Linked DNA regions of Homo sapiens: all the other regions are linked to region 4. Evidence: promoter capture Hi-C in 16 types of primary human blood cells and fetal thymus (Javierre and others, 2016). All regions are on one chromosome and are shown on one strand. The core of a region is centred on a gene start or on the middle of the fragment in contact, and the rest is flanking DNA. Distances in the headings are between cores, read along the strand shown. Region 1 overlaps GBP7 (guanylate binding protein 7). Region 2 overlaps GBP7 (guanylate binding protein 7). Region 3 has its middle 13 kb from the start of GBP4. Region 4 holds the start of GBP6 (guanylate binding protein family member 6).

Region 1 (7,083 bases), core at 1,399-3,898, 210 kb after region 4:
ACAGCAAGTATTGCAGAATGGCAAATGTTGCTGCCTGATCCTTCCTCCGGAAGCTTTGTCCCAGAGGGGCACCCGGCTGTTTGAGGTGTCAGTCGGCCCCTACTGGGAGGTGCCTCCCAGTTAGGCTACTCGGGGGTCGGGGACCCACTTGAGGAGGCAGTCTGTCCATTCTCAGATCTCAAACTCTGTGCTGGGAGAACCACTACTCTCCTCAAAGCTGTCAGACAGGAATGTTTTCTTTATTTTTTTTAAATTTTATTAACTTTCATGGTATTTCATTAAGTTCAGGGGCACCACTGGACTTAAAATATTTTTTAACTTCTTTATTTTATTTTATTTTATTTTATTTAGTTTGGGGGTAAGCCTGAACTTAAATTTAAAGTTAAAAAAAAAAAAAGGAAAATAGAGGCCAGGTGTGGTCGCTCACACCTGTAATTCCAGCACTCTGGGAGGCCAAGGTGGGTGGATCACCTGAGGTCAGGAGTTCAAGACCAGCCTGGCTAACATGGTGAAATCCCATCTCTATTAAAAATACAAAAATTAGCTGGGCATGATGGCAGGTGCCTGTGATCCCAGCTATTTCAGAAGCTGAGGTGGAAGAATTGCTTGAACCCAGAAGGTGGAGGTTGTAGTGTTTGCACCATTGCACTGCAGCCTGGGCAACAGAGCAAGTCTCCATCTCAAAAAAAAGAAAAAAAGAAAATAGAATTTTTGGCTTTCATACTGCAAAAATTATAAATGTGTGTGGGGTCTCATTTAGAAACAGTGAATTTAAACATACAGTACTAAAGTTATCAATCATCATTTCAGTGTACAACAAAGATAAAATATTGATTTGAAATAGATTGTAATGGGCATAAACTTTTTTATTTGCAAAAGTATGACTGTTCAAGGGACCAAAATATACAAATATATACATGCTTGATGGAAGCAAAATTACTTGTTGGCCTTGGAATTTGTGGATTTGGTCAGCATTTAATTCTATTTAAGGGACCTTCATGTCTTGCCCTGAATATTATTTCCAGCCTTGTCTTCTCCACATACCTATTCACTCATTCAGTTGAATTAAATAACTCTGTAATGTCATTATATGATCATACCCTAACAATTTTGACTTGGGTTCTGTTGGGTCTCTCACCTTTTTAATTCTTTCATTTCCACAAGTCCTGATTTTATGTACTCCTTAACGTCCAGCTCGTTTCAACCTACTGCCATCTTATTTGAGTTAGACATAGTAACTTCTTGCTTGAACTCATAGAGCATTTGTTTCTCTTTATTTTCCTTCCTTCTCACTTCCCATTTTTTGGATTGTTGTCTGTTTTGTTTTTTACATTACGACTTTTGTTCCACTCCTGGCAGAAGTTATCATCTTGGTTGCATTTTTATGTTGACAATGCTATCTGCCACTCCTGAAAGTCATCTTCTTGTGATTATGGAACTTTGCATCCACAAAATCAAAGGCAGCATCTGCATTTTGTACATAGCTGAACAATTTTTGGTGAATTCAATTGATTAACATTGGCATTCCTAATATAGGCATGATTGAGAAAATTTGCAAAAGGATTATTGTTCACTAATTACTACATACTTACTATGCTGTAGGCACTGCATTAAATATTTTACACATTGACAGTGTCAATTGCTACTTTTAATATCTAAAGAAAGAGAAGCCCTGAGAAAATCAATATAAATGGCAAAAATACAGCTTGACTTTAACATGATCTTCAAAATTCATATTACATGCCCTACTATTCAGCTATATATACTACAGCTGAAATAGTGAATGAACAACCAAATGAATGAATTAATAAGTGAATGAATCAAAAGGAGACTCTTAAGTCCTATCTGTAATGTGCTTTCTAGTGTCACAAACAATATCAGATTAAGTTTGGAAAAATTTAAGTTTATTGCATACAAAAAGTAGAGAGCATCATTCAGGAGACTTCATACCAAGATGCTCTCCTCATAATGGTTACAGCACCACTGATAAAGCATAAAGGAAGAAATATATTTACTTATCGTGTGATTGGCTTTATACATTAACAATATTTTTAGGGCAAATAGAGATGTTTAGGTGCTTTTTCTATAGCTGATTTATTTAATTTCACTGAATCATGCTGGCAAGCATATAAAGCTTACATTTGTGTTTCCTTTAGACACAGCATTTTGGGAAAACTGGAATGACTTCAGTTTTGGTTACATGGATACAAGTAGTTGACCTTGAGATGTATCTAAACTGTGGCTTCCATTTTTTTTTTTTTTTTCTTTAACACTAGAGTGACCCTAAGAGTGACTCGTGGATCTTTGCCCTGGCTGTGCTTCTAAGCAGCAGCTTTGTCTACAACAGCATGGGCACCATCAACCACCAGGCCCTGGAGCAGCTGCAGTATCCTTCCAGGAAGTGAAGAGCCAGGTTTTATGGAGTTTAGGGGAATGGAAACTGATACTGTGTCTTCTTTGTTGTGACTCAGTTGTCCTGGTTGAGTAAGAAGAGAAACAGTGCAAAAGGGAATGTGTATAAAACTTGTTTCTAAGTGAGATGTGGAAATGATGGTGTAGGGTGCTATCCTTCCTTAGCTGAGATCCCAGCTACGTGACTGAGCTAACAGAGCTAATCAGGGCAAAATCGTGCCCCAGACCTGATGAAGTTGAGGACTCCAGCGAGTTTGTGAGTTTCTTTCCAGACTTTATTTGGACTGTTCGAGATTTTACCCTGGAGCTGAAGTTAGATGGACACCCCATCACAGAAGATGAGTACCTGGAGAATGCCTTGAAGCTGATTTCAGGTATCAGAGCATGGCCTAGATGGGAGAAGGTTCAGTAGCGGGTGGGATCAACTAGGACCTACCGTTCAACACCTGACACAAATTTTTATATTGGACTGGATTGAGGCCCTTGCTCATGGTGGTTGGTGATTGATAAGTGATTATGATTTTTGTGGTTATTTTTGCTTGAAATTTCCCAGAGGCTGAGGTTCAAATTCATTGAGGAAATTTAAATCTCAAAGTTCTATCAAATGATTTTAGACCAATAAGTACCATGAAAAATATATTGAGGATTACAATTAGTATTATCACATCCTAAGACTCATATATTTGTGTTACTTATTAACTTCAAGTGCTCCTCCTATTCTATTTGGAGAAAATTAACTAATAAGCTTGGAAGCTGGTAAACACAGAATCGCAAGAAGTCAAATGATCCAATTTTGGAAATATATTTCACTCAGTCTATTTTATTAGCCTGGATACTTATAACCTTTAGAGAAAAAGGAGATTCATACAGTTAATGATTCAGGAAATTAAAAAAAAAATACACAGACATATGCTTCCAGTAGGACTGTCAAATCCTTTATTTTACCATTTTCATAACATCACCTACTTCATTCTACAGTCTCATATAATATGTTGTCAATCTATTATACATTTGTTAAACAGATTATATTTAGTGGAGTGGATACCTGTTGGCACCTACAATCAATATCCATCTTTGTTCATTTGTTCATCCTTTCAACAAATATTTGTTTTGAATAACTGATATATGTCACAGAATCCCTCTGCAAGACAATGTTAGACCTAATATAATCTGACCTGAGTATTTTCCGTCTCTTTCAAACATTTTTCCCAGCCACATCTTGTCCTTGTTTCTAGCATTTAAATTTTAAGCCCAACATTTCATTTCTGACATGGGGACAGTAAGATTGAGAAAGTCCATGATGCTATGTAATATTAGCCAGAAACAGGAAGAAAAATATGACAGGACCTCATTTCTATATGGATTCTATTTCAAAACGTCAAATACATAGAAACAGAGAGTAGAACAGTGGTTACCAGGGCATGGTGAGGGAGGAAATGAGGACATGTGGGTGAAGGGTACAAACTTGAAGTTATATAGGGTGGGAAAGTCTAGGGCTCTAATATACTGCAGGAGAACTATCCTTAACAATATTGTATTTTACATTTAAAATTTACAGAGATTAGATTTTAGGTACTCTTACCACAAAAAAAGGGAAGAAAAGTATAGAAAGTATTGGATATATAATTTGCTTACTTAGTAGTAATTTCACTATGTACATGTATATCGAAACATCATGTTATAACGCCTTAAATATATACAATTTTTAAAGAAAGTACTTCTTATCATATTTTAGTTAATCATAATTCAACAAACATTTTAAAAATCGTCAGTCTACGGGACATCATACAGTGGCTGAGGAAACCAACCACAAATTCCTTCACTTGAGGTGGATGCATTCCCTTCATTTCCAGAAGTACCTTTTTGACTCTGCTTTGTGCAGAAATTGACTTTTCATACCTTAAGTAGATTAGCATAAGTTTGGTTGCATGAGAGGTTTGATTACATAGAGTAGATTCACAGACACAAGAGACTGTAGTGATTGATGGAAGGAACTTTGGAAATGAAAATCTTCAGGCTCACTTAAAACCTGTTCTTCAGTAGTCACTTTTTCACTAATTCTGCAGGCAAGAATCCCCAAATCCAAAATTCTAACAAGCCCAGGGAGTGGATCAGGCATTTCTTTCCAAAACAGAAGTGCTTTGTCTTTGACCGGCCAATAAATGACAAAAAACTCTTACTCCATGTTGAAGAAGTACGAGAAGACCAACTGGATAGTAATTTCCAGATGCAATCAGAAAATTTCTGTTCTTATATCTTCACCCATGCAAAGACCAAGACCCTGAGAGAGGGAATCCTTGTCACTGGAAACCGTGAGTCTATTTCCCTATATGGGTGTTTACTGAGGCCTACTGTATCTCAAAAACTAGTAAACTAAGCTTATGAGCACGAACAACTGGTAAGGAGATAACATCTGTGTTATGAGGTGTGGGATAAGTGAAGGATTTTTTCTCAGTGAGGGTATAAAAGCTGTATTGTGAATTTACACAAAACAGAAAGTAAGTAGCATGTCATGAGTTTCTGCAAGCCTATTGAGATTTTGAGATACAAAATTCAGCGTAATCTTATAAACAAAGCTGGCTTCATGAACATGTTACCTGTGCAGTCTTTTAGTGCTCTGTATAGAAAAGAGCTTCTCACAGGGTTTGATGTTCTGGCACTGTCTTAAGTGTTTTTATAAAAGCACCTGCATTTACATTCAGAATTATGATCCACAAATGATATAATTTACTTTGCTGAATAAACGCTTTTAAATTTTTACTTAAGCAGAAAAGTTTTTTTTTTTCAAGAAACCCTTGCTACATATTGTTTGTGATTAGTAATTAACTTTGTAATGTGATGAGCTGGAGAACAAAATAGAAAGAATAAATAGGAACAACAGTCATGTTATCGTAGGAAAGTGACTCCATAAAAAGTAGTAGTAGTAATAGTAGAATTGAAAGAAGGAGAAGGAGGGAAAATTCATGTTAAATGGAATTTTTTCTGATTTTTAGAATGCTGATACATACCACTCGTAAAACAATGAGTGAAAACTTTCTATCTATTCCCTAAATTTCCTAAATCATTCAGGGCTGGGGATGCTGGTGGAGACCTACCTGGATGCCATCAACAGTGGAGCGACTCCTTGTCTGGAGAATGCAATGGCAGTTCTGGCCCAGTGTGAGAACTCAGCAGCCGTGCAGAGGGCAGCCAACCACTACAGCCAGCAGATGGCCCAGCAAGTGAGATTCCCCACAGACACACTCCAGGAGCTGCTGGACGTGCATGCAGTTTGTGAGAGGGAAGCCATTGCAGTCTTCATGGAGTACTCCTTCAAAGATAAAAGCCAGGAATTTCAGAAGAAGCTTGTGGTAATCTTTGTTATTTTTTTTTTTCTTGATTCCTGCCTTTCTGGAATGATACTTATAGTCCACCTTTTTAATGCCATGGTTCATCTCCTTCTTGTAGTAAAGGGAGATTGGATTATTTTATGTGACTGAATTTAATGGGCTACAGTTTTTTATTTTTCTAAAATATGGGAAATTTATTAATTTTCTATCATGCATAAGAAATTATGATTGTAGCACATTTAACAACACATTTATACAACATACTAACTACATTTAATAACAATGTATTGCATTCTTGAAAATTACTTAGAGAATAGTATTTAGAATGACAAATATTTGAGTTAATATATATGTTAATTAGCTTGATTTAGTAATTTCATAATCCATACAAGTTAAACAGAATTCTTGTACAGATTATGTTACATTTCAAAATAACCTGATGTAAGCATTATACATATAGAATTTTTTTTTATTTTAAAAAGGTAAAATAAAGAAGCACTTGCCTGACTGAGTGTGGAAAAAATGCCTAAGCTCACAGCTCCGTAAGTCAGAAGTTCTTTTTAGGGCATCTGTGTGCTCCACTCAGTGTATCACAAGCTGAAAACAAGGTGTTGATTGAGCTTACTTCTTACCTGTATGCTCAGGGGAACCTCTCTCCATCTTCAAGTCAGCAATAATGCATCAAATGTTTCTCTTGTTTCTAATTTCTCTGGCTTCCTCTTCTGCCTCAAGGTAAACAAAAAAGCTCTGCTTTCAAAGAGCTCATGTAATTTGGTAATTCTTAAATACTTTCTTGAGTGTACTCAGTACTACTTGAATACTCTCCATTTCTAAAGTCAACAGATATCATATAATGTTACCTAAACACTGGAGTACACTCCATCATATTAATAAGCCCAGGGACTATGGATAGTGTGGAAACCTCGGAGGGGAAATCCTGGGGGATATCTTAAATCTGCCATTGGCACTGTTATTGAATAGCCTTCTTTCAGTCTGTCTATTACCAGTCCACAAGTGACAGAAATCCCTTAGTACATATTGAGAAAACCCAGATGCAATCATAGCTTAGAAGTGTAAGCAAAAGATAATAATGTTCCCATATCTTCACATTTTAAGATCCTTTTTGGAAGAATTTCAAAAGAGTTCCAAGCTCTGTTCAGGGTACAATCAAGTCATTACTGGGATGTGATTATCCAGAAGGGTTGATTTTCTGTGTGCACATTTTATCCATAGCAATCTGTGTTCTCTAAGGACACTACTACTGCCACAACTGAATTGTCCCTTGCTTGTTGTTTATAGTTAGATCACTGTTAATCATACTTTTGCTGAAGGAAAGATAGAG
Region 2 (6,675 bases), core at 664-3,163, 190 kb after region 4:
TGAAGGAGGCCAAACTGAAACACAAACAGTAACAAATGTAACTAACTGTTTTACAAATGAATAATTTAACCATACTGAAGAAGGTGGAGAAGGAAAAAGCTAACCTAAGCAACTTTGGAATGCAATGTTTTGAGTGTGTATATAAGGCTAAAGACCAAAAGAACTGTACACTAATAATTTTCTATAGGAAGTAAATTTATTTTTCCACAGACTTATTATCAATTTTGAAACTACTATATGAATATACTAGGACTGAGCAAGGAAACAAATGTATTATGTGTTAGAAGACCAAAGTCTAGCTTACTTGGAGAAAATAGTTTAAAAAGGAAAGTCAAAAGCTTGAATAAGCTCAGATGTGTTGGATTGGAACTGGAAATATCAACAGAATCTCAAGCTTTATTATAGAAATGTACAGATAAAAATAAATATAGATGTGTCCTAGTATACATACATATATTTCTTAACTTTGCCCCTGAGTGGGTCTAGAAATAATGAACACACCTAGAGTGATATATTGGTGTCAAAGTACCATTATCCATTGAAAGAAACCAAAGATACTGGGAGAAATGTTAGATTCTAGGGATAAAGCAGGAAAAATACAGATATTTTTTCTAGAATACGTTGTGGAGCCAAAAAGGAAAGAAGCGCTGAAAATATGATGGAAGCATGTAAAAAAAAAATGGATCCAGCTTGAAGAAGCTCTCAATGACAAAATCTAGGACAAGTTGAGTAACAGAACAAATATTGACAGTAAAGTATTGAAACCCTCAGAATAAAACTAATATCTCTGAGTCTGCATTGATACAAGTAAATGATTAAATGAGCAAACAAAATAAATAAAGAAGGAACAGCCCTTGCTCACGGTAGAACTCCAGTTAATATAGAAAGAATGACTATAATAGAAAATCCTATTTAGTCAAACACCACAAAAAGAATCATCAATAAAAACTAAAAGTAGTGGCTGAAAAAAAAAAAAGTATGATGAGATTGTATTTGCATAGTCTCCAAACTGTTTCTCAAAATGGAAACTTTTTAGTGACAAAGTGGCACATAACTCTTTAAGGTGGCGAAATCTGGCAGCAAGCACTTTAACCAAGTGATCAAAGTTAAGGCCATAGCACCAGAAAAAGTAATGTCAACATCATGAATCCCTTAATACAAGACACTGAAAATGGCAGAACATCACTTCTGTGACATTTGCAAAAAAAAATGCATAACTTCAATCAATGAGGAAACATCAGAAAACTCCAAATTGAAGGATATTCCTCAAAATCACAGGCCAGTGCTATTCTAAAATGTCAAAGACATGAAAGACAAAGAACGAATAACGAACTATCAAAGATGCAAGAAAACTACAGAAACATAATGACTAAATGCAATGAGGGATCCTGGATTGGATCATGAAGCAGAAGGACATTAGTGGGAAAATGGTGAAATGTGAATAAGGAGTGTAGATTAGTTATCATTGTATTGATGCTAAAACCCTGGTTTCAGTAATTGTTCTATGGTTAAGTAAAATATCGACATTAGGGGAAGCCAGGGAAGTGGTGTATGGGCACTCTTCATACCTATCATGCTTCTGTAAGTCTATTTCAAAATGAAATTATTTTAAAGGGCAGACAGTGGCCCAGTCTATAGGACAGCCTTAAAGGGCCACAGGTCTCCTTAGAAATGCACAAGAAACAATGTTCAAGAATAGAAAACAAAGATTTATGCCCTATTATAGATTTCAGCTCAACTGACTTACCAGACATTACTTTCCATTTCATTTTTTCCTTGCAGACAGAGGAACGCCCTGAACATGGCATCAGAGATCCACATGCCAGGCCCAGTGTGCCTCACTGAGAACACTAAAGGGCATCTGGTGGTGAATTCAGAAGCTCTGGAAATCCTGTCTGCCATTACACAGCCTGTAGTAGTGGTGGCAATTGTGGGCCTCTACCGCACAGGCAAATCCTACCTAATGAACAAGCTGGCTGGGAAGAACAAAGGTGAGTGGCACCAGCAAAGCATGGATGAGCCCCATCTGTCCAGTTACACAGTCAGTATCTAGTATGAAGATGGGATGAGAGAAAGTTAGTGTTGGGGATAAGTATTGATAGCTAACTTTGAATTCATCAGTGAACCCTTCAAATTCACTCTGGAGGATTGGAGTCAACTGACTCTTCTCACTTTGCCTTTATTTTCACATTTCATATATAAATAAGGTATTAATAAAAAAATTAAATAATAATGCATTATTAAATATTTACTAAAATATTTATGTAGTGATAGCAAGTTTCCACAGAACTTTAAGATAAAATGAATGTTTCAATCCATATTGGATATTCTAATTTCTCTATTTTTTGTAATTAAGGTCACTATTGGTTATAATTTCTCTTATCTCTTTTACATGAGACTGTTGTCCAGTGTCAGGGGCTCAGTGTGGCTTACAAAGCACCAAGCTACCAGTCAGAAGGCTGATGTTAAAGTGTAGTTTGTATGTCTTTCTAACTAAGCCAATCAGTTACTATTTCTACTCTTCAGTTTCATCATTCAGGAAATGAGTGATTTGACTACCATATCTTGAGTTCCTCTGTTAACTCACAATAACAACAGATAGTCACTCTCCAAAGAAATGAATATATTCAGGAATAAGCAGGGGATTTATAAATTCTGGAAATGCATGCTATAACAAATAATAAACTCATCTGGAAATGTTAAGGCAGTGAGAAACTTTTAAAGGCAAAAAGGAGACATATACGCCAGTTGATGTAAAATGAAAGTTCATTGGTTTACAGGATCATATTGCAGGTGGGGACATGTGCATTAGCTGTTGCTTGAGAGAGTTTTATGCATAGAACCCTGACTGCAGGGACCCTGATGGCAGCAAGTAAGGCCACTTGCAAGATTGTGGTTAGGACTGGCTATTACTGGAAGTACAGAAGTAGCCTTTGTCGCAAGGTTGTAGTTTGGCAATGTCTTAATGGCAGTTTCCACTACAAGAAAGTATACATGAAAGCCCTTCCTTCATGAACTCCTGACTCCATTTTGTTAGGGTTTGGCATAAGTGACTCCATTTTGCTTCTGACAACTTTTGCAGTTCCCCCTTTGATCAAGATCTTTCTCTGAAAGCATCTCTGATCGATCATCCTGTAGTTTTATACTTTGTGTTCCCTAGTGCTTGGATGCACTTGATTTGGTTGGTTTGGTCCCAAGTCAGGGGAAAGTGATTGGTGACTGGGAGTCATTTTCAAAACCATTTTAGCCACATTTGAGCAACAAGGAGGTTGGGAAGGAGTGGGTTTCAGGCTAATTCTACCTGGAATTCATTATTAAGTCAATTTTTTCAATTCCACATTTTCAGCATATTCTTTAAGTGCTGAGCCAGCATTATTCTGTTAGGAGTGTCGTTTCTGCAGAAGTCAGACAGGTAACAGGTACAAAGCTTAAAGAAAATAATGCAAAGCAAAACCAACAGGAGCATAACAAATTCATTTTGGATGATGGTTCTGAACCAAGAGGCCAATTAAACAAATTAAAAGACCATGTGGAACTGGGTAAGATTTTTTATAGGCATTGAGTCTTTTATGTAGTTTGATTAGTGATTCTATTATTTAGCATCTCATAACTTGGTTAAATTAAAGCCGAGAGTGCTAACTCTGTAAAAAGGGATCACTGGTACAATTTGAACAAAAAGTTGTGTTAGGAATATTGCCAAAGTGATTCACTACATGGAAGAAAGCATCTGTTAGGTCAGGTAAAGATTTGGGATTGGCATGACAGATCCAACATTCCATCAAGTACGCACAGAAGCTGCTGATTATGAAATTATAACTATAGCATTATCCTGTCAAGTGAAAAAGAAGGCACAAGCAAAGAAAATTTAAGAAGGATAAGAGTCTCATTTTTATAAGTATTGTTCTATCATTCTTAGAAAAAGCTGTCCATAGCATGAAGCCATCAACTTCTCATACTGGTTTACACACTAAATGTCTTTGGGTATGGCATTGAGTGGTTTGGTGAACTTTTTGTGTGGCCCAAACATGAGACATGAGACTCATCTCTTGAAATTTACATTGAGTTGTGTAGCTTTAGTGTATAGAGCTTCAGGAACAGAGCAGTTTTTTATTTTAGCAATTCCAGGCCAGAAAATTGGGTTGGACAAACCTAGAAGAATTCAAAATTTAGTCCAGGTTGTAGATAAATAATAATAAACTCAAAAGTAATGCATAGGGCTGCAATCTAATGACAGATGAACTATAGTTTTCCTTTCTTAATCATAAATTTTCTCCTCTAGTCGTTCCAGTTATTACCAAGATAAGGTTTCTTTGTTTGCAGAATAAATTTAACCTCATCAAACAAAGCCTGATTATTTATACAAGTACAGCAAGAACAGTCATGAGGCTCTTTTAAGTTTGCTTCGTTGACACTTTAAGCCAATTAAATAGAGCTCTTTCACATATCTTGGGAAAATTATTACATACACAAAACATGCAAACATAAATACATACACAAGCAAAGGTCACAGGGTTTTTCACTTTAAAAATTTTAGTCATAACATGGTAAAACAGAGATACAAACTCACTTGTTTGTAAAAAGGACAGCTAAATCCAAACTTATTTTTCTGAAAAAACAGAATAAGTTAAGGTTACTTGCTCAAATGGCTAACCTTTTGAGATTTTCCATTTGCCTTTAACTGTTAATTCTATGGAGGCTGTGGACTAAATTTGGGGTAAACTGCAGCTTCCACAGGAGTTTTTTTGTTTTTTGTTTTTTTTTTAACTTGAGGCGGAGTTTCGCTCTTGTTGCCCAGGCTGGAGTGCAATGGCGAGATCTCAGCTCACCGCAACCTCCGCCTCCCGGGTTCAAGCGATTCTCCTGCCTCAGCCTTCTGAGTAGCTGGGATTACAGGAGCCCGCCACCATGCCTGGCTACCGTTTTTTGTTGTTGTTGTTGTTGTTGTTGTTGTTGTTTGTATTTTTAGTAGAGACAGGGTTTCTCCATGTTGGTCAGGCTGGTCTTGAACTCCTGACCTCAGGTGATCCACCCGCCTTGGCCTCCCAAAATGCTGGGATTACAGGTGTGAGCCACCACACCTGGCCAGTTTGGTTTTAAGTATAAAAATATTTGTCTTCCTTTTAAAAAAAATCAGTCTCAAATGAGTATAGTGGTTAATTCATCAGGTGTTTATATTTTAGCTAGAGCTGGTGGAAAAATACATGCTCCAAGCAGTCTTGAATTTAGTAACAAATTTACCTTTCTTTTGTTTGCGTTTTGCTTTGCTCAACTAGTCAGCATGGGTGGAAAATATTTTAGGAATATTTTTTAAAAGGTTATTTTCAGTTTTTCTGTTTTCTCTGGTCCATATGGAAGTGAAGACATTTTCTACTCACAGAGAGACCTATTATTACTCTGAGCTCTAGATTTTGGCCAAAGCACAAAGGGGTTAAAAAGCAGACCTAGTTGACTGGAGAGCCTAACTTTTATAAATACTTATCTAGTTCTTTTCCTTTTTTTTCTCCTTAGGAATGGGTAGGTAACCAAGCGAAAAAGTAAGAGGAAAAATAGAGCAAAAATAGAGAAGTTAGAAGCCTCTATATGCCAATCAGAAATACATCTCATTGTTTCTGAGATGTTTGGGATCCCTTCCAATTTTAAATGCTCTTCTTAAAGTGCAGTTCTTGAAAGTTCATCTGGAATGTTCCACATAATGGCCATTGTAATTCTAAACTACTGTTGGTGTAATTTCCCCATCAATTGAGAAGTGTGCATGAGATGGACCATAAATATAGCTGGCTAGAGTCCCAGGAGAAAGATTATTCTGACATGCCTTTAAATTTGAGTATCTCATTTTGTTTCTCATTAATCTCTGAAGAGAAAAAAATAAAATCCTATGAATCTGGTTGGGAATGTCAGGAGTTTGGACTCGTGTTTTGTTTCACAATGTACCTGGTCCAGGGTATTTATTTTAGTTGGTGGACAGTCATTGCCTTAGTTGTCCAACCCATGACCACATTTTCCCTGCTGCATGGACATTTTCTTAAGTGTGGCAGATGCTCTAATGGTAACCTTGCCCATCCATGGCCAGTTTACCTTCACACAAAATACTTTATCTTCAGAGACTGGAGTCCCTCATTAATGATGGCACTGCTTTAATTGCTTTAAATTGGTCAACCCATGCCTATGTTTGGTACGTTTATTTTTGCTCTTGGCAGATGTTCAGAAGTAAGAAAACACTCAATTCACCAAATTTTTAAATCAAGCAGGCAGACCAAACAAAATATTAAACCAGGCATGCAGAAGTTAAAACAAACAAACAAACAAAAAAACACAGAGTACTCACCAGAAGGACAATGTTCTTATCTTGTGAAGGGCTTCCCAGAAAAGACAAAGTTGTTTTTAGGCTAAGAAGGGATTCAAGGCCTTTTATTGAGGTGACCTTATCCAAATAAGATCCTGAACTAGACAAAAAGAAGGGATTTTAACCCAAGGGGAGACTCAACACAGTAGAAAAGGTCAGCTGTGGAAATGAAGAAATCAAAGGGCTCAACAAGTGAATACCATGCATGGTTTCAGGGGCTGATGATCATTCCAAGATGAGCTCACTTTGGGTCCTACTTCTGATGCCAGATTATGTCAAGCTAAAATAACAAGAGAGAAAGTAGTTCTCCAAAGAAATGAGTTTATTTAAGA
Region 3 (6,862 bases), core at 18-2,517, 150 kb after region 4:
TCAGTCCCAAATCCATCTCCCTGACTAACTAAAATTAGGGGTTTATATAGCAGGGAAGGATGTAACTATGTGTGAGAAAACAAGAACTCGAAAGGAGTAAGGAGGCAATCAGGATAAATGAGGGGCCTGGTGTCTCATTGTCTCGATGCCATGATTTGCTGAGTTTCAGTTCTTTGATACTTTTTGAGAGGTCTTGGGATCCTTTCCAGAGGAACAAACTCAGATAAAACATGTAAGTTTCAAGCTTTAAGACCAGAAGGATCAATTTCTATGTTTATCATAAAAACCTGTCTATGGGACTATTAGGCCAGTTTCAGTCCCCCCTTTCTATTTATCAGTTCCTCAATCATGGGGAATCTGGTCATTGATCTTTCTGGCTGCTTCCTGCTGAGGAGGGGCATCATAGACAGCTCCCTATTCAGGGTGACTACGTGGCCACCCAAGAATCAAAGATTAACTCAATACTATAATTTTCTTCTAAAACACATTTTTTTCTCTCTCCAGTCCCCTATTTTCACTAAAGACAAATCACGGCAGGACCAACCTACCTGCAAAATAAACTTCAGGCTCATATACTGGGTCTGATTACCCACACAAAGTACAGCAAGAATCATTGACCACATAGGCTCTCCTAAATTAGCTTTGCTGAAACCTCTCACAAGGCCATTTCAGTCAAAGCTCTGGGAAAATAACCAGTTCCTCCAACTGTGTCCCATTATAAAACAGGTTCTTACTAAACATATCCAAACTAACACATTGCCATAAATTAAGAAAATTTACAGTTTGCAAATTCTTGAGAAATTGGGCAGAGAGAGAAATATGTCTCAAATTTGGTTTACAAAAGTATACTCTATTCAATATACATAAAAGTATGTTTGAAGGCCATAAATAGTGCAAAAGAAAAAATTCTCCAGACTGAAAAACAAAAGAAAAAGAATTGGTAATATTTCAAACAAAAAAATCCATAAAATTATTTCAGTCTTCCCTTTATTCCGTCCGTGCAATCAACTCTTGCTCTGCTTCATATTATGTTAGCAAACTTTTTGAACATATTAGCCTTTTAATTAGAGTCCAGCAAGTTTTCTCTCTAATCCAGTGGCACCATCTCCAAAGCTATCAGAAACCTGCATTCAAGAGTCATTTTCATGAACTCCCCCAAAGAAGCAAGGCCCAGACTGCAGCTAATTATAAGTCACTTTTTGAGAAGAATCAAAGTAAAACAATTGTGGATGACAAAAGCCTTAGGACAACCATAGTGAGACACACAGTTGACATGGAACTTTGGTTATTTCTGTGGTGTACAATAATCTAACATAATAATCATAATTATTACTGACAACATATATTAATATATATAAGAATTTCAGGAATGTCATACAATCTTGGAACACATATTAACAATATTTCTATATAAATAAAACCCAAAGTTAAACACCACTTCAAATTTGACAATGCTTCCTGTATAATTCTAACATAAATAAACCTAATATGTCTTTCTTGGACTTCAGGAAACCTAATATCCAAAAAAAGTTAGTTTAAGGTCAAAAAGACTTAATTTGAACTTGAAATTTTGCTGTTGGAAAGTCTGTCAAATATCAAAGGTTTAAAACACTTGATATCACAAAATAGGATCACAAGATACCATAAAACAGTCATTCATTTTGCCAAAATTATGATACAAAAATGTTTTCTCTTTGATAGGAGACTCAGTTTCCTAAACAATAAGACCCAAGAAAGACAGCATGAGGCCAACTAAATCTGTGTTTCTCCCACCATTTTTTTCTTCTGTAGTTTTACTCAAAAGGCAAACAAAACTCTCTTATCTTTTACATGAAAATTTTGTTCAAAAGAGAAAGCCATATTTTACCTTTGTATGGTGTATTTTTAATGTTAAAGCTAACTTTAATAAAACCTTATCAACAAATCTATCTAATTTTAATTTTTTTGACCATAGGGTATTTCCATAAGTATTTTATAGCCTATTACAATTTTCTATTAAAGAGCAGATCAATGCTCCAAGAAAACCTCTGTTAGTCTGATGCAAGGCCCAGATGCTTGCATTAACGTGCTTTTGATATTAATGTTTAACTTACAGAAAACCTCTGAACTAATCTTACCCCTCAAAATCAGCCCTTACAATCTCACTTGCCAACCTCTTCTGCAATAGTCCCTGGGCCTAGGGGGATACCACAGTTTTAATTTCTGGTCCTGTGTCTCATGAAGGCAGTTCATTTTGATTGTCACCTTCTCCCAGGTCTGAAAATGAGGCTTTGAGTGATGTCAAAGCTTAAGATTCGGCAGAAGTCAGTGCCTTTTTCAGACCCAGGGGTCAAAGGCCTATAAGATAACAGCACAAGGATTAGTTAATAGAATATTTATACTATGGAAAGTTCTATCATTCTCTCTAACATATTACAAATTAAAACACTGTGATTTGGTATCTAACAGCTACTGCCTGTAGCACTTCAAACCACTGTATTAGAGTAGTTAGGTTACTCACTGCATATGTCTAATTGCTAGCACTCTAGTAACATAACTGTGACCAAAGGCATCAGAAATATGATAAGCTCTATGCCAAACTTATCAAAGTAAGACAAGTAACTTTCCTCTCCATCATTTAAAAGAATGGTAAGGGAAAAAAATCAGTTTGGGAAATTCAATATGAGGATGAATAAACAAACTGTTTGCATTTAAATATTATACAACAAAATATAAACAAAGTAAGGGTAAGCACACAGTAATGTCTCCTTCAGCTCTTTTAAAAGGGCATCATCACATATTTCCATGATTGCTTTCTAGATACAGTACTGACAAATGATTAGGTGACTTTGACCAATAAAATCTTCAAATCAGTGGAACACTAGCACATATTTTGTTTTCAAGTACACACATCAAGGCCCATGATAAATGGCTTGAGATCAAAGATCATTAGAAAGTCTCACATTGTTTTACTACTTCATCCAAGTGACTGTCACTTAATTTTAATAATGGTAAACACAACTAAGAGAGAAATTCCAATCAATATAATTTCCTTAAGGACAAAGCCAATCTTTCCTAAAACTTTGTACCCATATCACAGTTTTTCTTCATTAACTAAAGGAAAAGATCTGAAACCAACTCAATTTATTGGTTGAATTGAATTACCTTGAAAATAAACACCATTTAAACATTTTTATTCTCACCTACTTTTTCAAATAACAAAATTAATAAAGTACACTTAGTGCTCAGAACTTATAAAATTAAGTAATTTTTTTCCAGGAACCTTAAAGCTCCTGTAGCTCTCTAGATCATTAGAGGTAAGCAAATCTACCAAATTTTAAATGGCTGGTGTGCTTTATCAATATTTGCTTGACAAAGGCAGCTTAGGAATTCTAGATAAATAGATAAATAGAACAAATGATGATTTGTTAGAAATGTATAGGAAACAAAATGCATGGTCATAGAGCCAAATAAAAGCCTTCCATTAGAAACCAAAAAGCATCAATGGTTTTATATGTGTGTGTATATAAGTACAACCCAAAAGAGAACAAACAAAAATAAGTGAAAATTAAAAGCAAAAGCAAATAAACTGGAAACTAACCCCAAAGTTCTCTCCTACTCAGTTAACCTTGAAGGCTAAAGTGTTACTCAGAGCCAAAAATGAACACATAATAGGTATTTTGTTCCTGGTACACAAATTAATATCTTTAAGTCCACCAATACCACTATACATTGTGTGCAATTAAGAAGTTCACTTTAGGTGGCTGGGCATGGTGAGTCATGCCTGTAATCCCAGCACTTTGGGAGGCCGAGGTGGGAGGATCACAAGGTCAGGAGATTGAGACCACTCTGGCTAACATGGTGAAACTCTGTCTCTACTAAAAATACAAAAAATTAGCTAGGTGTGGTGGCGGGTGCCTGTAGTCCCAGCTACTCAGGAGGCTGAGGCAGGAGAATGGCCTGAACCCAAGAGGCAGAGCTTGCAGTGAGCCAAGATCGCACCACTGCACTCCAGCCTGGGTGACAGAGCGAGACTCCATCTCAAAAAAAAAAAAAACTGGTTCACTTTAGGCACCATGACCAGTAAGTATTTTAGTGCTAGTATATTCTATGCAGAAGAGCAAACACAGTATAAAACAAAGCAATGCAAGCATTTACATAAAATTTGGCTCTATGTTAAATCTGGGCTCATGCTTAACTATACTAAAAAGAATTACCAAACTACTAATATATTTCATTACAATATTTCTTAAGTTATCTTCACCAAGTTTAAGAACTTTGACCATGAGCAATGTTAATTAGCCAAATTTCTTCAAGTTTCTATCAGGTTTTAAAGAATATTTTACTATCTAAATTTTTTCAACTTTCTGTTTTCCCTGTATAAGCATGAAGGTAGACACACAGAGAAACAGGGAAGAAATGACATGTGACTTACCTAGATCATCTATGGCATGCTTAGACTTTCTGTTCTGTCCTAAATTTTCCTTTCTTTTTAAATAACCAGTCATTTCATTTTAGGACAAAAATACACCATATAAGATCCATTTTCATATAAAATTATTATCTTTTCTTTATAACCTTCATTATCAAAAATATATCCTCACATCCATAGCTTTCTTCACATCTCTCTCTGCTACTTACTAGTTCCTTTCTACCTTGTTTCATAAATAACTGTTTTAAGTCTATAAATTAGCCTTTAGATAACTTCTGAATTTGACAAAATAATTTTTTCTCAATAAGAGCTCAGCTTCTTTGGCATATTTTATATACAGAATTATATATTAACCATAATTCTTATCCTTAGTAACCTTAAATTTTAGTGAAACCCTAGGAAACAAGAAATCCTGAACTATCAGATATTAGCAATTTATAGATGAAAACAATTCCACAATCTTGGGAAACATATTTCCCATATCATAACCCTTTCTTAACTGGAAATTACTCAGGCATCTAATGAGCATCAAAAATAATTTTAAGATTTTACATTGCACAAGAAGTTCACCCAAGGTACTTATTCTTTATATTTTACTTTATTATTTTACTTTACTTATTTTTAGCATATCTAGATTATTTATGCATCACTTATTTCCTTGTTTACCATTTTATAACCTGTGAATATCAGGTGTTCACTTAAAGAAGAACCTTAAAGTTAACTGCATGGACATTTTAAGACATTTCTATTTTTATTTTACCTACAATTTTAAAGCCAACTTGTTCAGTAAAGATTCACTTAAGTCACATGAACTTGACAATTGCTTGGACTTATTTACTTAATTTATGAGTACTCTATTATTTATAAGTTAATTTGGTAGACACCATATACTACATAATAAATGTACATACACATAAACGCATCTAGACATGTATACATGCACACAAAGATCCAATACCTCTTACCTTGGTACTCTAGCCATGAGATAACAAAGAAACTCACCAGTCTACAAACATGTTCACATGGCTGAACTTTGTTAGCCCTGACCTGAGAGGTAATCCAATGAAAGCTATGAACCAAAATTTTGGGTAAGCAGTTTCTATGGCAGTTTGACTTTTAAAGGCCAAACCTCCCTAGACTCCAAAGAGCACTGAGGCCAAACAGCCCCACAGACAAACAACACCACAGACGAACAGCACCTGGAACCTACTAATCAGCCCAACCCTGCTTCAAACAGCAATATAAAAGCCTGAATACATGGAACGCCATCTTGCTTTCCCATTTAACATCAAACTTCAGATTCCAAAGAACACTGGGGCTAAACAGTATTAGAAAAGAATAGCAGTTTATCAATTTCTAATTTCCCATGACTATGTCAAACCCACACTATCACCAAAATACAATCCAACTGCTGCAGCAACAAACAAGCCACAAGAGTGTCCATAATGAAAGAGTCAGAGTGTTTCCCTCTCCCAGGCAGTTGGATTTGCTCAACCTGCAAATGGAAATACCCTTTAAAATTTTCCCTAGGTGAGAGGAGGAGATCCTGCTGTGTGGGCCCTCAAAGGACACTCACCTATCTGGATGCAGATGTCAAATTTCAGAGGCAATTCTTCCTAGACAATCAGGAACTTGGTTGGGTCTGGCTGTGGCAGGACCAGAGAGAAACCAAAACTCACTTCCAGCCAGAAATGGGCAGGCAGCTGCTTAGCAGGGCTTCTGAGACTCATAGCCTTCAGCAGCGGAGCCACAAGCAAGGTGTTCCCAGTCAGGGAACCAAATTCTGTTATGGAAACACCATGGGTTCAGTCTAGGTTCTGCTGCTCATCACACAGAAAGCCAATCACTGACACAACAAGGAACAGTCTTCCTTGGCAATAATCATCTGATGATTGCCTTTCTGTGCAGCAATCAGCAAGACTGAGACCAAACCCCTGGTGTTTCTGTAACAATCCCAGGACAGCTCTGGGCTCCTCTTGCCTGACATCATCCATGTGTTCCCTCCCTATCACCTCTTCCCATTGGGTCAGCTCTTGCCTATTTGTCCTCTTTATGGGATATGCTCTGCACTTGCTTGCATCCATGAGAACAGTGTCACTGTTTCTGTCCGAAGTCAGTCTTTAATCTTCATTTGGAATTCCATCCTCCCTGTCTTCTTAGACAGCTGATTTTTAAAAAATCAAATACTCATATATCACTTAGTATGTAAAAGTATATGTGTTAGATGTTGGTAAGAGTTGTGGGGAAAAATAAGTGGGAGATGGGGATATAGAGTGTTGGGGGTTGCATTTATATATAGGATGGTCAGGGAAGGTGTCTTTGAGAGATGCAATGGAGGGATCAGTGACCTTGATGAGAATAGATTTCATGTATTGTTGGGAGCAGGAACCAGTGCAGGAGTGACAGTGAGAGAAGCAAGAGAGATAAAAAACGTAGCTCTCTCTCAATACA
Region 4 (6,905 bases), core at 4,018-6,517:
GAGAAATCTATGAATCAGACAAAGAGGAGGTCACTGATAACAGGAACATCTTGAAAAGTGGTGGGGTTCAAAGTCAGAGAAGAGTGGGTTGAAGAAAGACACGAGAAGGAAAAAACTCAAAAAGGGAAATTGAGATCTTTTTTTGCATTGAAAAGTGATTAAAAACTAAAACAAACACAAAAACAAAACAGAAGTTGGTGGCCACATGGGATGTGGAATTCAGGAAGCGTTTTCAAGATTACATAGATTAAAACATCTTTGTATGTTGATGGGAATATTACATGAGGAAAGCAAAATATGTTATAAGACAAAGGAGACACAATTACAGGAGCCCAGGACTTGAATACACAAGGGAAGGTAGGATTCTGGGCACTAGTAATGTAGAGTTTCCTTAATGGGAATGAGGGAAAAAATATGAGAATGGATTATCGTAAGGTAGTGGTTTGGTGGTAAGAATTGGAATGAGAAGGTTGGTTTATTGAAAGGAATTGGAGTCTACCTTCATGTGCTCTGGGGTAGAGAATCAAGAAGCTGAGATATAGCTGGAATCAAGCAACTGGCCTGTGTCCCAGGATACCACTTACCATGATTCTGTCCTGCCAGATGGTTCATCAAGTAGGATTTCCCTGTACGGTACAGTCCTACAATGGCCACCACCACCACTGGCTGAGAAATCTTTTCAAGAATCTGTATAGCTTGCTGGTTCACCAATAGCTGCTCATTGTTATTTTCCACCAGGCAAACGGGGGCCAACATTTTGGGTCCAGATTCCATGGCAACTGCCAACCTAGAAGAGCCTCCCAGTAGAAATAACGTTACATTGTCATTCTCTGTCTCAGTGTTTCCCAAGCACCCATCAACATAGGACTAATGAGACTTCTGTGTTTCTACTGGACAACATGTAATCTAGCATTAGCTGACTGCACAAGGCTTCTTTTATCACTCTCCCAAGTCTGTAATGATATTAAGTGATGAAACATGGAACATTATCTTCTTTAAAGTTTTACTTCAGTAGTACTATTAAAATCCAAGTAATTGTTACCATAATAGGGGGCCCACTAATACTCCAAGTCCTGTGATGCATGCCTTAAGTATCCAACCCCACTGACACAAAAATCTGCAAGTTGTAGATTATTATAGCCACAAATACACAAATGATATCACGAGTCTTACAAAGGATGAATGCAGAAATCATAGAACCCGGCTTACAAACCTGGACAATTGATTAAAATAGCAGGCTAGGAAGTTCTAAGTCTTTCTCTCCTTGGAGACATCACAAAACAACTTTAAAAAAATGGCTAAAATGATCTTATAGGAGCTCTGGAAAACAGTCATAAGTCTATAGCAACCAGGCAAATGTCCAATATTTTTAAAAGGCATATTCAAAATGGTAGGCGATTTCATGGCATTTTGTTTGCCAGTTCTGCCCACTCCACTCAGTGACATAGTCTTAGTTTGGAGGAGGTGGTTTTTCACTTCCCAGTTCTCTCCCTTGAAGTGGAGGGAGCAAAGAAGACCTTATTTGTAACACACTAACCTGACTGGGAGCTACCTGTTCTGGTTTCTGTTCTGCCTACCTTGGATTTCTGGTATGTCATACACAATGATTTCTTGTGTATGATATCAAAACCACTGGAAACAAGTGAAAAAAATTAGATACACCACACTTCATCATAATTAAAAACTTTTGTGCATCAAAGAACACTATCAACAGAGTAAAAAGGCAATCTATGGAAAGGGAGAAAATATTTGCAAATCATGTTTCTGATAGAACACATAAAGAACTCCTAAAACTCAATAGCAACAATAGCCAAAAATAAAAATTCAAAAATGGATAGAGTAGACTAGACGTTTATCCAAAGAAGAAATGGCCAATAAGCACATGAAAACATGCTCAACATCATTAATCACTAGGTAAATGAAAATCAAAACTACAATGAGGTACATGTTAGACCCACCCATTAGGACTGTTATTTTTTTTAAAAAGCCCAAAACTTCAAAACTGAAAACAGGTGTTAGCTAGGATGTTGAGGATTTGGAACCTGTGTGCACTGTTCATGGAATGCAAACTGGTACTGTCACTATGAAAACAGTATGATGGTCCCTTGGAAAACCAAACATACAATTAACATTTGATCAAGCTATTCTACTTCTACATATACACTCCAAAAAATTAAAGGCAGGGACTCACACAGATATTTGTACATCAATGTTTATGGCAGCATTATGCACAATAGCCAAAAGATGAAAACAGCTCAAATGACTCTAAACAGATGAATAGATGAACAAAATGTTGTATATACCTACAATCAGCTATTATTCAGCCATAAAAATGTAGGAAATTATGACACATGCTACAACATGGATCACCTTGAAGACATTATGCCAAGTGAAATATGCCAGGCGCAAAAGAACAAATATTGTATGAGGTACTAGAATAATCAGATACATTGAGACAGAAAGTAGAAGTGTAGCTACCATGGGCTGGGGGAGGAGGGAATGCAGAATCATTGTTTAAAGGTAGAGAGTCTCAGTTTACAATGATGAAGTTCTGGAGATAGCTGCACAACTAATGTCACCGAAGTATTTTCTTAATTAGTAAAATAGTAATTTTATTATGTATATTTTACCAACAAAAAAGAGAGTAAAAGACAAAAGCCTGGATAATCGGGCAACCTATTCCTCTGTGTTATGCTACTGCAACCACTTATCTGTCAAAATAACCTACCTCAAAGACAGTGGTTATGCTATAAGGTTTTTGATCGACAACCTGCAGTAACTTTTTAATGATCATCATATACTGAAACTTGTTCTCTAATGCATCAGTGTGACCTTATATGTTTGTCTTTTATCTACAGGTTTGGAAGAGTGATGGGAATAGAAGGGAGAAGGGAAAGGATCCACTATGGGATGAGAAAACTCTAGAGAATACAGGCTATCTTTCCAAAAGGGAAGCAGGAGAATGTCCAGAATCTAAAGAATTCAAGTACAGGCTGAAATACGTAGCCTAGAAGGGTCAGGTTCTCTGCAATTTACTCCCACAGACAAGAATAAGAAAAAGAATAAGAATAACAATACATATAATATTGCATATTATTTATGGAGATAAATTATAGATATCTAGAGAGAGAGAGAAATTATGTACATACATATTAATAGATAAGTTAGAGAGATTTCTTTTTGAGAGATAAAGTCAATGTCACTTTTGGGTGAATCGAGGTGAAAGGCATATGGGATTTAATTGTAATATTTTTAGAGGTGAAGTTTAATTCCATAAATTTAGTATTGAAAGTACAATTATTCTGTAGGTCTCCTGGCACATTTTTATTGCCATTATATTAAAATGGTTTTCTATGATACCTGTATTTCCTTATAATTAGAAAAATGTAAACATAATATTGTCTTCAAATGCCTCAAATACTCAGTTTAGAATTGATATGTCAGACACTCAAGATGCATCTAATGCCACCAAAAATACCAGCTCTATCATTCACTACTTATGTGGCCTTGACCAAGGAGGTCAAGCTAGCTGAGCCTGTTAATTATAGGGGTCTGTGAGTTAAATCATACATCCAACCTGGAGGGTGTTTTGATAATAAAACGAGACATTATAAGTTTATATCTTTGCATAGCATGCACCACACAATAGGATTTCAGTAAATGTTGAATTAAATGGAGGTTACTACAATAATTACAATAACAATTGGTCCATTAGATTATATATTTCAACAAAATATACAAACTATAAGTTACTAAGAAACAAAAACTACAAATAAATTTTTCACGGAAGCAAAACTGTAAAGTTCAAGCACGCTGTTGCTGTACAACCTGCTCTTGTCTGATTCTTCACTGAGGGGAGTAAGGAAAATGGAGATCAAACACGAGGTCCTGATTTCCACAGTGAAATGCATTGTAATGTGATGTGTAACGTGTTCATCACATTACAGTGACTGCAACTGTACAGTCCCTTCTTTAAAGTGAACAATAAAGGCAGCTCTAGGAAGATGTGGCTGCTCCTGCAAACAACTTTATATAAACCAGGTCTCTGGTTTCTTAGCTGTGTGGGAACCACAGACCTTTTAACTTCTACTAAATGAAATACAGCTGTTCAATCCTATTCAGGACTGGTTTTCACACTCTGATGTACATAAGAATCACCTGATCACTCTGATGATAGTTTCTTTTGCTGTGCAGAAGCTCTTTAATTAGATCCCATTCTCAGCAAACTAACACAGGAACAGAAAACCAAAAACTGCGTGTTCTAACTGGTAAGTGGGAGTTGAACAATGAGAACATGTGGACACGGGCGGCGGGGGGTTGGCGCTGGGGGTGGGGGTGGGAAACTCACACACTGGGGCCTGTCAGTGGGTGGAGGGCAAGGGGAGGGAGAGCATTAGGACAAATACCTAATGCATGCGGGGCTTAAAACCTAGATGACGGATTGATAGGTGCAGCAAACCACCATGGGACATGGTGGTTTTTAAAAAAATCTTTTTTATTTTAAACATAGTGTCTATTCTTCATCTTTTTTTTTTTTAAAGAATCAACTGAGAGGATTGTTCAAACCCAGATTCCCAGGCCTAAGTATCCATCTGTTTAGCAAGAGCTACAAGAGACTCTGATGTTCCTATGGGAAACTAACACCCCCCTCCTCCCCCACCCCCTCCCCACACACACATACACACACACACACACACACGCACACACAGAGTTTGGACTATATAATTATTTTTAAGTAATAAAGACCAGTGATGTGGGGCCTAAGTTTATTTCTACATAGAGATTTATAGAGCTCTTATTCTGAAGCTTTCCTAAGTGTGACCACTAGAAAGATAGACAAGAAACTCTCCCTTCCGGTATAATTGCCTGGAAGCTCCTTGTTCTCTGCATTCTGGGGCTTGCCGCAGGACCTGAGAGAGATAGCCAGGCAGGCGCCCACCAGGGCTCATTCCAGGCCACTCACTGCTGTCCTGAGTTGATGATCAGGGAACAGCACATCCAGGGGGACGCGGCGTGCCCGGCTGTCACTGGTTCAAGTGGAGAAGCTGAGCTTCCCCAGAACTAAAGCCAGCCACAGACTCCTGCAGGCCAGGCAGCAGGCACCCTGCCCTTCCTGCCCATTCCTCAGTTACCACTCTGAATCAGAAACCAAGTCTTGAGTTAGGAACTAAGTTGCATTTAAAAGAAAGTGAACATACCTGCTCTATAGCACCGCAGGTCCAAGAACAGTTTTCAGTTGCCTCACTCACCTCTTGTTTTCTTTCCTCCTTTTACTTTTCTGTTCTTTCCTTTATAAAAGGAAAAAAAAGCTGAGTAAGCTAGTTGTTTCCACAAATGGGATGGTGCAGTAAAAATAAACTTGGAAGTAAAATTAATCCATGCTTTTAATAAAGTGTTAGCAGAGCCATGCCTGAATCATCCGATGTGAGTTTGAGGATGGGTGTTGGGTGCAGGGGTGGGAGGAGGTCAGAAAAAGCCACAGATACTGCACAGTCACACCTTAGCAAGCACAATCCTGCCAGCTTTCTTTTGTCTTTCCCATCTTAGAAGGCTTCACAGGCTTTCTTCTTGATACCGTTCCCAGGTGGCTTTAGTTTCCTAGGCACACAAGAAAAACAGGAAATCTACAGTAGTCACATAAGCAAAGCCTTAGAAACCAAGAATATTTTAAGCATTTTTCTCTTAGTGGGAATTCTTGAGTTCTGGGGTCTTTTGTTAGTGAAGAACTTTTGATATTTTAAATGTGTTCACACATGCACACACACACACAGAAGAGAGAGAGAGAAAGAGAGAGAGCTAAAGATATTACTGGTTTAAAAAAAGAATGAACCATGTCTTTTACAGCAACATGGATGGAACTGGAGTTCATTATCTTAGGTGAAACAACTCAGAAACCGAAAGTCAAATACCACATTCTTACTCATAAGTGGAAGCTAAAAAATCTGCATACATGGACATAGAAGGTGGAATGTGCAGTGCATAACAGTGTACAAGCTCCTATGAGAATCTAATGCTGCTGCTGATCTGACAGGAGGCAGGTCTCAGGCCTTAGTGCTCTCTCCCTACTCACCTCCTGTGTGGCCCAGTTTCTAACAGACCATGCTCTGGGGGTTTGGGACCCTTGATGTGGACTATTTATCCAACAACCCACAGTTTCCATTGGTTGAGTCTTATCCCCAGGGACTTTAACTATTTTGAATTCACAAGCTGCCCTTGGGCAAAATAGACACCCTTTCACAGCTTGGAGAAACATCTGAGTGAGAAAAGGAGAAAGACTCTCTACAGAGGACATAGCAGCATGCTGGGACTGTCTACCATGGCTGCACTGCTAAATGGATTTGAGAACAGAAGCAAGTGGCAGAATGAGCAGACATGAGTTTTGGCAATAACTTAGGCTGAGGATTTGGGGAGTGTGGTAGACTAATCTGAATACTCTATTCAGACAAAGACTTGTGTTAAAAATGTAAAATTCTGGGCCAGGTGCGGTGGCTCACTCCTGTAATCCCAGCACTTTGGGAGGCCGAGGCGGGCGGATCACGAGGTCAGGAGATCAAGACCATCCTGGCTAACAGGGGGAAACCCTGTCTCTCTCTACTAGAAATACAAAAAAATTAGCCGGGTGTGGTGGCGGGCACCTGTAGTCCCAGCTCCTCAGGAGACTGAGGCAGGAGAATGGTGTGAACCTGGGAGGCAGAGCTTGCAGTGAGCCGAGATTGTGCCACTGCACTCCAGCCTGGGCGACAGAGCGAGACTCCATCTCAAAAAAAAAGGAAAATTCTGGATTCAAAAATGTTTAATATTTTCAAAAGCAATATTAAAAATTGACTAATTTGTCATGAATGATCTTAAAGACCAAATTCCAAGGGAAGGTGAACGCCCAAAGAGTTAAGTGGAGTATTGAAGCT

The links. The method cuts DNA at HindIII sites, captures the fragments that hold promoters and counts their contacts. A CHiCAGO score of 5 or more calls a contact.
Region 1: a contact is called between a fragment that was not itself captured here and the fragment with the promoter of GBP6 in region 4, in 3 of 17 cell types (activated CD4 T cells, non-activated CD4 T cells and naive CD8 T cells). The highest score is 8.3, in activated CD4 T cells.
Region 2: a fragment that was not itself captured here is called in contact with the fragment with the promoter of GBP6 in region 4 in 7 of 17 cell types (activated CD4 T cells, non-activated CD4 T cells, naive CD8 T cells and 4 more); the score reaches 11.6 in activated CD4 T cells.
Region 3: a contact is called between a fragment that was not itself captured here and the fragment with the promoter of GBP6 in region 4, in 2 of 17 cell types (non-activated CD4 T cells and total CD4 T cells). The highest score is 7.7, in non-activated CD4 T cells.

Annotation. Positions count from the first base shown.
Region 1 is chr1:89,147,971-89,155,053 of GRCh38, reverse strand. GBP7 (guanylate binding protein 7) reads left to right here. Exons shown (of 11, transcript NM_207398.3): 4 at 2,277-2,386; 5 at 2,590-2,786; 6 at 4,479-4,724; 7 at 5,482-5,762. LOC105378842 (a long non-coding RNA gene) reads right to left here. Exons shown (of 4, transcript XR_947579.3): 2 at 6,374-6,463; 3 at 5,508-5,722. Among named protein-coding and RNA genes, the nearest start is that of GBP7, 24 kb to the left of the region's middle. RefSeq lists an enhancer at 5,124-6,323. The HindIII fragment of the contact is 1,023 bases long and covers 2,137-3,159 here.
Region 2 is chr1:89,167,062-89,173,736 of GRCh38, reverse strand. GBP7 (guanylate binding protein 7) reads left to right here. Exons shown (of 11, transcript NM_207398.3): 2 at 1,783-1,991. The coding sequence starts at 1,802. The region is part of intron 3 of LOC105378842 (a long non-coding RNA gene); the gene reads right to left. Among named protein-coding and RNA genes, the nearest start is that of GBP7, 5.6 kb to the left of the region's middle. The HindIII fragment of the contact is 3,033 bases long and covers 397-3,429 here.
Region 3 is chr1:89,208,768-89,215,629 of GRCh38, reverse strand. No RefSeq gene overlaps it. Among named protein-coding and RNA genes, the nearest start is that of GBP4, 13 kb to the right of the region's middle. The HindIII fragment of the contact is 2,042 bases long and covers 247-2,288 here.
Region 4 is chr1:89,362,421-89,369,325 of GRCh38, reverse strand. It overlaps GBP6 (guanylate binding protein family member 6), which reads right to left and starts at 5,267. Exons shown (of 11, transcript NM_198460.3): 1 at 5,199-5,267; 2 at 585-797. The coding sequence starts at 774. The HindIII fragment of the contact is 2,752 bases long and covers 4,809-6,905 here.